2 separate regions of the Homo sapiens genome follow, and region 2 is linked to region 1. The links are contacts of gene promoters, found by promoter capture Hi-C in blood cells and fetal thymus (Javierre and others, 2016). All regions are on one chromosome and are shown on one strand. The core of a region is centred on a gene start or on the middle of the fragment in contact, and the rest is flanking DNA. Distances in the headings are between cores, read along the strand shown.

Region 1 (4,899 bases), core at 1,386-3,885:
AGGCTTTTGTTGACTTTTTAACAAAATTCAGTTCAATTTTCAGGTATACACTGCACAAATAAAGTGGAAAAATGATTATTACCTAGTGATTGTAAGCTATTTCAACCCATTCTTGCAAAAATTTCATTATGAATTTTCTATTAAAGTATATTTTTATAAAACTATCTTTAAGAGTAAATTTATTGATCAGATAATCACAAACTTTGAATAATTTGCTATTACATCCTAAAATAACAGGTAGAAGAGGACCTTAGAGTCTTCTTGAAATTTCCTTTCTCTGTCAGCCTTTATGCTGATTTTAATTATCCAAGGTCAAGATCTTTTTTATGGATGGGACAACTATGAGAAAAGTATTTATTGAAAGTGGCAAGTTGTCCTACTCTGGAAAATCTACAATTGTCATTTGATCCAAGTGCATTGACTGGACGACTCTTATTTTTATAAGGAAAGAAGCTGTTTTCAATTTAATAGTCATGTTGTTAGTTCTTTCTCAGATGACAAAAATCATAACATAATTTGACTCCTAAAAATTCCACATGAATTAAAGAATAAAGCATATAAAAAGGAAATAATAACAAAATATAACAAAATAAGAAAACATAGGCATCTGTATGATTTTGCAGAGATACGTGTACTTCTAGATATAAAAAAGGAAGAAATCACAAAAGAAAATGTTGCTACATTTGAATACCTAAAGATGACAAGCTTCTGCCAGAAAAGCTATCAGAAGTAAATTTAAAAGACTACAAAAAAGTATTTGTAAGATATATGATAAACATACACAAAGCTTATGAAGATTGCTAACGAATCAATAAAAAATGGAACTTCAATAAAATGGCTAAAGTGTGCCAGTGAAAAATTCTCACACCCTGACATGAGAAGGAAAAATGCAAATAGCTAGTAGATATATATAAAAAATCACTCGATGTCACCAATGATAAAAATACATTTTAAAAATAATAGCTTTTGTCTCTTCTACCAAAATGATAAATATCTGAAGTATTATAATCTAGGGTGATGTGAAATAAATACTCATAAACTGCTGGTAACAATTGCTACAAATTTTTTGGAAGGAATTTGTACACTATTCGTCAAAAACTTTAAAAATACACATATCATGTGATCCAATGTTTTCACTTCTAGAAAGTTATCATAAAATATTTAAAGATGCACACAGATTATGTTCCAAGGGCATTCTTTCCAGAATTATTAATAACACTGAATCCTTAAACAATGCCTAATATCTAATAGTAAATTACATGTATCTAAAGAGTAGAAAATATTTTACAATTATTAAAGTTGTGTTGTTGGAGACTTTAATGACTTGAGAAAATATTTATGTTATTAAGAATAAAAATAAAAGCAGGTTACAAATTATTATTCCAGTTTTGCAGTACACACAGAGTTAAAAAAAAAAAAGCAAGGAAATTCCTCAACATGTTAATACCATTAACAATGTTATCTCTGGGTGGTAGGATCTCTAGTTATTTTTATATTCTTCCTGATACTTTTCAATATTTTCCAAAATGTTTACAAATAACATATATTGTTATAATCAGAATATAGGTGTGATACACAAATCTATATGTGTATACATACACACAAACACACATATACAGAGACTTTCATGTGGAAATTTTGTTAAAAGGATATTAGAGATAATGCCACAAACAAATGTGCCACAGGCCAACTTATAATGAGTGGGCCACGTGGATTTGTCCAGATATTCAATAATCAGAAATTTGGATGCTTCTTTTGAAAAACACAATAACTCACCCATTTACAGAATCTGAGATCAAGAAGGGATCTTGAGATCCTTGCCACTGAGGAAGGCCTTATGTCCATCTTGTTCACCATCACCTAGTTCAGTATGTTTTTGAATGAAAGAAAAAACGAAGAGCACCTCAATCATCGCACAGATGGAGAAACTGTTTCCTCCAGAAAACACAGGGCTTAATGCCCAATGTTACACATCTCCACAAAATAACACCAATAGCAGCAATAATTATGGCTACTACTACCAACACATGTCACCTACTGTGTGCCAGGCACTCTTCCAAGTGCTTTATGTACATCAACTTACTTAATCCTCATAATAATCCTACGTGGTGGGTATTATTTTCATTAAATAGGTGAGAAAACTGAGTCACACACCACGTCTACACCTCAGTCCTCTTTCTTCCCCGCCATTTCATGCACACCCTAACTAGAAATTCGATCTGACGCTAGCCAGCATGGATCCTTACAAGGGATGTTCCGAGGGCACATCTGCGTGTTTGTGTGCAATGAGGAAAGTGGCGAGCTTTTTAAAGACCCACCGCCAGAAAACAATGTCCTGATGTCCTGTATTTACTCTGGCTTCATCCCGGGAGCGCCCCTCCCAGTGGGCCACGGGGACCTGAGACAGGCTACTCCACGGGGTCCCCAGCCTCTCTCGCCCTCTAGCGCGAGGCGAGCGCCGCGCAGCCCCTGGGGACCCGCCGGGCTGGGCCGCAGCCCCCGCCCGCGCCACCTGCTCCCCAGCTCCAGCGTCCCCGCCCCGCGTCCCGCCCCCGCGCCGCGCCCGCGCCCCGCGGTCCCTCCCTCCGGCGTGACGGGAGCATCGGCGCTGGCTGCCCGGGCCGCGAGCGCAGCAGAGCTGTCAGCGGGCGGACGGGCAGCGGGTGACGGAGCGGCGAGACGAGCGCACAGCAGTCGCGGCCCGGGAGCCGGAGCTGCCGCCGCACCCCGGGAAGGCTGCCTTGCCGCCGGCCCGCCGACCGCGGCCGGACGAAGATGCTGTTCCGCGCCCGGGGGCCGGTACGGGGCAGGGGCTGGGGGCGGCCGGCGGAGGCTCCCCGCCGCGGGCGCTCGCCGCCCTGGAGCCCCGCCTGGATTTGCTGCTGGGCGCTCGCCGGCTGCCAGGCGGCCTGGGCTGGGGACCTGCCCTCCTCCTCCAGCCGCCCGCTTCCTCCTTGCCAGGAGGTGAGCAGCACCTGGTCCTCTACCTGGAGTTTGCTGGGGGAGGGCGCGGAAGATGAAGGCTGAGAGCGGTTCCTGTTTATTTCTGTTTGCCATCCCCTTTTCCTTTGCTTGGAGAACAGGGGCTTTCGTTTGCTTCGAGGGGTGAAGTTGCCCGCCCTGGTAGCTGGCCCGGAGAGGGTGTGTGGCTTCGCTGTCTCTCGGGGGATGCTTTTCTGTCCGCGCTTGTGTCTTTTGGGGGCTCTGCAGGACTTTGCGGCGTCCTTTTTGGACAGCCAGGTTTGAGGACCTGGGGTCGAGGGAAAGATTTCAGGAAGGGGAGGAGACTGGGGAAGCCCCACCAGTGGGATTTGAAGAACCATCTCATCACAGCTTTTCCAGAGAGCCAGACACAGACACCAGAGGATTTCCCGCTCCTCCTCCCCCTGTCTCCACTCCCCTGTCTCTGCAAACGCCTTCGTCCTACTCCCCTGCCCTCAGCTTCCTGATTAAGGCCCTGTGGGTTTGCTAAGCCAATGTATGGTGTCACTTAGCATCCTTCTGACAAAATGTGGATTTGAATTTGGGGGGGAAAAAAAAGGAGTATGTACTTGGTAGAGAAGATGCAGGTTGATGATGGAGAAAATTAGAAAAGACAGTGAATATGCTTCTTTTGGGAGGTGCTTTATCACCTGGCTGAAGTATTGCCGCGGTGTATTTTATAGCTTGTAATCATTGTTGTTTTACAGCCAAAAAGGATAAACTATGGGAGATGAGATTTTTATCTGGCTTTTAGAAGAACGAGACAGTGTGCCAAAAATTTACAGGGGGTGTCATTGGTTCTTGTATTGGGTGTTTATCTTTCCATTTAGTGTTCAGAAAGTGCATCCTCTTAATGAAAATCAATGAGGGGAAGGAAGCAACATTTCTGACCTACTTTGATTGTGTTGGGAGGATATATGGAATAGATACTGTTTTTAGGAAGATTGTTAGGAATCAGGGCGATGGGTCGTTTTAATTAATGTAGCAAAAATAGGTTAGCCAATAGCCCCTCTGGGAAGAAAGGCCAGACCCTCTTGTTTGTGTATGTTGCTCTAACTTCTGAATTTTACCGAGACTTGAATTACAGAGTATCTGTGTTCTACACATCATCCATCATCTATGGATTTTCGTCTTTCTCTCCTACAGTACAGGTCCCAGGACAGACTGAAATGAAAGAGAATCGGATCAAAGGCTTGTGTGCGAACACACAGCAATGTTGTAATTGGGGAAATCAGGGCAAGAGCTCAACAAACAGCTGTGTTTAATTTTAGGGCTTTTTAGTATAATGAGCTTAATCTATATTCTACAACTTTACATATCACCTGGGAATAATCCATTATTCCAGGTTTCCACAGAAAGCTGCTTCTTGGACATCTCAGATTGAACAGTTGTGACAAGATAAACTTTATCCTCCAGCCCCCAACTTCTAATATGCAGAATATATTTTTCTAAACTGAAAAGTCTTAAGCTTCTGATAACATCGATTCTTAGTAATGAAAATCTGCTTGAAGTAGGCGAAGGTCAGGGTCAATAGAAGTGATGCCTTTGGTCTCTACAACTAGACTAATCTTTTAGATGAACACATGTCCTACACATGTATACCTAGAAAGAAGAGTCTGCAACCTAAAACAAAGATTGAAAGGAGGGGCAGAGAGATGACAGAAGGTTCAGGAAGGCTGGGTTCACTTGATCACAGGTCCTTACTGCATTGGCTTTAGAAATTGCATGTGACTCATCCGTTGAGATCTGAAATTTACATTTTCCTTCTGAAAAATGAGAATAAATAAAATATATAGGAGGACGCTATTGAGCCTGCCTTTGGCTGTATGTTTTTATAAATGTTAATGCACAGATCCATTTATGTTCTTCCTGATGACTGACAAGTAAGAGGAACTAATGGGAGTTAGAAGTTCTTGG
Region 2 (4,899 bases), core at 879-3,378, 870 kb before region 1:
GAGTCAAAATGGAAAAGGAAAATAGGCATTTACCAACCATTAATTCACATAAAAGAATCCATCATTAAAAGCTTAACATATTGGGATTTTCTACTAAAATAATCTTTGATGGATATTATGTAGCCCTTTAAGCTAATTTCCCACCTTCTATTAACAAAATGTTAACAGTACCAACTACTTGGCTACAAATACAGATTTAAGTAATATTTTCTATTTTTACATATTTCACACATACAGATAAGTTAGTATAATTATCACATCATCAAGATATATCTTAAAGCACTGATGAATATATTTATACATGTGAAAAGGTTTGGCTTGCCATTGCTTCAGTAAAGTTTACAAAAATTTTCAAGTACATGAACAAGTCCTATCTTAATATGGACTTACAGGTGGGTGAACTGCCTGATCAGCTGATGTGTAGAAATAAAAAAATACACAGCCCCAGAAGTATTTACTTAAATTTGTCAATAAATTCACAGTAATTTTCAGGCATATCTGTGAATGTGTGATCTTGATTTAAATACAGATACAGTGATAAAAACTAGATTTTTAAAAACATAATTTATAAATGCTCAACAAACAGCACAGCCCTAATTAAACCAAGAGAACTGCTACCAATAAAGAAAGTCGGAGGAGGACACCTTTTCTAGAAGGTAGGGGTGAATGGGCATATCTCTGGTGTCCACAAATGTGTGCGAATAGAACCTTAAAGTTCAGCTTGTTTTTACAGTTGGGTTTCTTAAGAACGTCTAGCCTTGTTTTTTTCCAATTTTTTCTTACAGTGTCAACCTTGGGTTAAATCACTTATGAAGTCTCTTTGAGGAGTAAAACAACAACAATGATGATTCAAACCCTGCCCAAATACTACCTCCCTTCTCGCTGTGCATGCCTGGCTTTTGCTTGACAGATGTCAGAGGGCTCTCCGCCTGTTCTCTCAGCTCACCGCACTGCTGAAGGCACCCCGCACAAACTCCCCTCGGGCAAAGCCCTCGGCCTGTGGTTATTTTGGTTCTTTTTTGTACCCTTTTCCCCTTCTTTTTTGCACAGGGAGCGCCATGCATGACTCGCATCGGGACCCAACTCATTTCACCCAAGAAGACATGGGATCTCCAGGGCAACCGAGCGCAATCGTGGGGTCTCGGGTGGGCCGGGAGGCGCGGAGGACCACCTCCCGGACCGAGCCTCTCACCTGCGGGCCACCGAGGTCGCCCCGCACCCGCGTGTCGAGCGCGTCGTGCCGACTTTCGTCTTCGCCGCCCGAGCGGTAGATGAGGCGCAGTGGCACGATGCTCTGGCGCTCCACGAAGCGGTTTTCCTTCCTCTTCTCTAGCTCCATCAATGAGGCGTCTCCTCCAGGCAGGAACCGGGAAAGGAGGGAGTGGAGAGAAAAGGCGAAAATAATGACCCTGACCCTCACTCCTCCATCCTGCAGTCCTACGTCTCCCCTACGAAAATCCCCACCGCCCCCTCCCTCTCGGAACCCAACTGGGAAGGACGCAGAGACACCAGCCCGAGAGCCTTGGACCAGCTCATCCGAGAGCAACCAGGAGCGGGGCCCAGAAGCAGGGCACCCCTTTCCCATTCTCCCCATTCCTCTTCAGAAGGAGAAAAACAGGCTTTGACCGAAGGCTTCCAGTGCATCTGCGCGCCTCCACACATATATTTTTGCTCCACTTCTCACCACCCTCCCGAATTAAAAAAAAAAAAAAAAAAAATCTCCCCGCGCACTCGGGAAATGGGGATGCCCCCTTTTCAATACGCCTGAGGGCTCCAAAGATTCCCGGGAAATGGTATGGCCCAAAGGCACAGAGGACGGCTAACTTACCTGCCTGGCCGCAGCGCGCCGGAGGGCAGGTCCCCAGGACACAGAGCAGCAAGAAGGGCACGGACACAGCCACTGCCGCCTGCATGGTGCTGCCGTCAGCCCGCCTCGCCCGAGACGCTCAGCTCCTCATGCCGGCGCCGCCGAGTCCGTTTCCCTCGCTCCGCGCCCCCGGGGTCCCCGCGGCCACCTCCACCCAGCCCCGGCCGGTGCTGCGGCGGCCGTGGCGCTGCAACCTCCACCGCGGCTCAGTGCTGCATTGTGCTTCGCGGACGCTTCCGCTGGCGGGGGGAGCGAGCGAGTGCTGCATTGGGCGGTTGGCTGTAGCTAAGTGGTTTCTAGCGCCTCCCACCTCATCCCCTGGCAAAGGCTCGGGCGGGCGACAAGAGCTCGGCAGGGAGCGAGCGCCCGGTGCACTCGCCCCCCGCGCGCAGGCAAGGGCGCGCGCAGGAGAGTCAGCTGGGAAATGTAGTTCTCTCTCCGTGTCCCGCTTGTCTCCACGACGGCACGGACCGTCGCGACCTCGTGACTGTGAGGTCCTCTATATCCCACAGACTGGAAGGGCGGGAGGGAAGGGCAAAAGAAAGAGATCAGCACTGGACCGCCTCCTGGCATCCGAGATGCACCAACTGGGCCGTTACAGCAGCCAGTATTCATCTGCATCGTCCTTAAAGAGCTGTTCTGTTTACCACAGATTAGTAGTTACTTAAGTTATCCGGAGAACCATACCCTCACGAATACAGTGCTAGTGAATTATTCAACAAATACAGATTGAGGATATACTATGTACCCAGCGGTTGACAACCGGAAGGACACGGGGATCAGAGGCACCTGTTCTTGGGTAAAGTTGAGCAGACAGACCACTTTTTTTTACAATACAGTGTGAAAAGTGTCATGGTTATACCTAGAGGACCATTAATTCAGTCCAGGGAGTCAAAGAGGACCTCCCAGGGAAGGTCTCTGCAGGTAATAGAGGGATGATTTAGCTTAACTCTACGGGATATTTTTGTTCTTTATTGCCAGACAGCCTCAAAACTCTACCAGATATGGGGAACTCAGTTTTCTCAGGCTGCTTATTCCATTTTCCTCTGATTCAAAATGATAGAAATTCTTGAGTATAAAACAATAATAAAATAGTTATCTACATAAAGTAATACTTGTATTTTTTAGTTTTTCAAAGTTCACATGTATTATCTGATCCTTTGGTCAAGAATTTGATTATAACTATTACTCTGATTTTATATTTATGTATGTACGTATGTATGTATGTATGTATTTTTGAGATAGGGTCTTGCTCTGTCGCCCCAACTGGAGTGCAAGTGGTGAGAACACGGCTCACTGCAGCTCAAGCTCCTGGGCTCAAGCCATCCTCCTGCCTCAGCCTCCCAAATAGCTGGGACCACAGACATGTGACACCACACCTGGCTATTTTTTGTTATTATTATTACTTTTTGTAGAGACAAGAGTCTCCCCATGATGATCAGGATGCTCTTGAACTCTTGGGCTCCACCTTGGCCTCACAAAGTGCTGGGATTGCAGATGTGAGCCACTGCACATGCCTACTCCCATTTTAGAAAGGAAAAAAATTAAGATTTAGAGGTGTGCCTTTCAAATACTGTAGCCAGTAGTTACTTGAGGCTATTTTTTTTTTCCGAGTGTTTATTATTTATTTTTGTATTTCAATCGCTTTTGGGGAACAGGTTGTGTTTGTTTACATGAATAAGTTCTTTAGTGGTGATTTCTGAGATTTTGGTGTACCCATCACCCGAGCAGTGTACACTGTACCCAATGTGTAGTCTGTTATCCCTCACCATCCCCCACCCTTTCCCCTGAGTCCCCAAGTCCAATGTATCATTCTTATGCCTTTGTGTCCTCATAGCTTAGCTCCCACATATGAGTGAGAACATGCAAAGTTTGGTTTTTCATTCTTGAGTTACTTTACTTAGAATAATAGTCCCCATTTCCATCCAGGCTGCTGCGAATGCCATTATTTTGTTCCTTTTTATGCCTGAATAGTATTCCATGGTATATATATGCCACATTTTCTTTATCCACTCGTTGATTGATGGGCCTTTTGACTGGTGCCATATTTTTGCTATTGTAAATTGTGCTGCTATAAACATGTATGTGCAAGTTTCTTTTTTGTATAATGACTTATTTTCCTCTGGGTAGATACCTAGTAGTGGGATTGCTGGATCAAATAGTAGATCTCCTTTTAGTTCTTTAAGGAATCTCCATATTGTTTTCCATAGTGGTTATACTAGTTTACATTCCCACAAACAGTGTAAAAGTGTTCCCTTTTCATTGCATCCATGCCAACATCTATTTTTTTTTATTATGGCCATCCTTGCAGGAGTAAGGTGGTATCGCATTGTGGTTTTGATTTGCATTTCCCTGATAATTAGTGATGTTGAGCATTTTTCCATATGTTTGTTGGCCATTTGTATATCTTCTTTTGAGAATTGTCTATTCATGTCCTTAGCCCGCTTTTTTAATGGGATTGTTTGTTGTTGTTTTTTTCTTGCTGATTGTTTGAGTTCTTTGTAGATTCTGGATATTAGTCCTTTGTCAGATGCATAGTTTACGAAAATTTTCTCCCACTCTGTGGGTTGTCTGTTTACTCTGCTGATTATTTCTTTTGCTGTGCTGAAGCTTTTTCATTTAATTAGGTCCCATCTATTTATCTTTCTTTTGTTGCATTTGCTTTTGGGTTCTTGCTCATGGAGTCTTTGCCTAAGCCAATGTCTGGAAGGGTTTTTCTGAGTTATCTTCCAGAATCTTTATGGTTTCAGGTCTTAGATTTCAGTCTTGATCCATCTTGAGTTGATTTTTGTGTAAGATGAAAAATGAAGATTCAGTTTCATTCTTCTGTATGTGGGTTGCCAATTATTCCAGCACCATTCGTTGAATAGGATGTGCTTTCCCCACTTTGTGTTTTTGTTTGCTTTACGGAAGATCAGTTGGCTGTATTTTGCTTTCTTTCTGGGTTTTCTATTCTGTTCCATTGGACTATGTGCCTGTTTTTATACCAGTACCATGCTACTTTGGTGACTATGGCCTTATAGTATAGTTGG

The links. Contacts are between HindIII fragments. The CHiCAGO score rates a contact against its expected background, and 5 or more counts as called.
Region 2: the fragment with the promoter of ADAM22 here is called in contact with the fragment with the promoter of ELAPOR2 in region 1 in 3 of 17 cell types (naive CD8 T cells, total CD8 T cells and total B cells); the score reaches 7.8 in naive CD8 T cells.

The regions. Positions count from the first base shown.
Region 1 is chr7:87,057,390-87,062,288 of GRCh38, reverse strand. It overlaps ELAPOR2 (endosome-lysosome associated apoptosis and autophagy regulator family member 2), which reads left to right and starts at 2,635. Exons shown (of 22, transcript NM_001142749.3): 1 at 2,635-2,964. The coding sequence starts at 2,776. RefSeq lists silencers at 2,358-2,747, 2,838-2,907 and an enhancer at 3,173-3,673. The HindIII fragment of the contact is 3,663 bases long and covers 790-4,452 here.
Region 2 is chr7:87,931,480-87,936,378 of GRCh38, reverse strand. It overlaps ADAM22 (ADAM metallopeptidase domain 22), which reads right to left and starts at 2,128. Exons shown (of 32, transcript NM_001324418.2): 1 at 1,829-2,128; 2 at 1,193-1,353. The coding sequence starts at 1,913. RefSeq lists enhancers at 866-945, 956-1,005, 554-1,131, 1,132-1,709 and a silencer at 1,816-2,225. The HindIII fragment of the contact is 4,406 bases long and covers 74-4,479 here.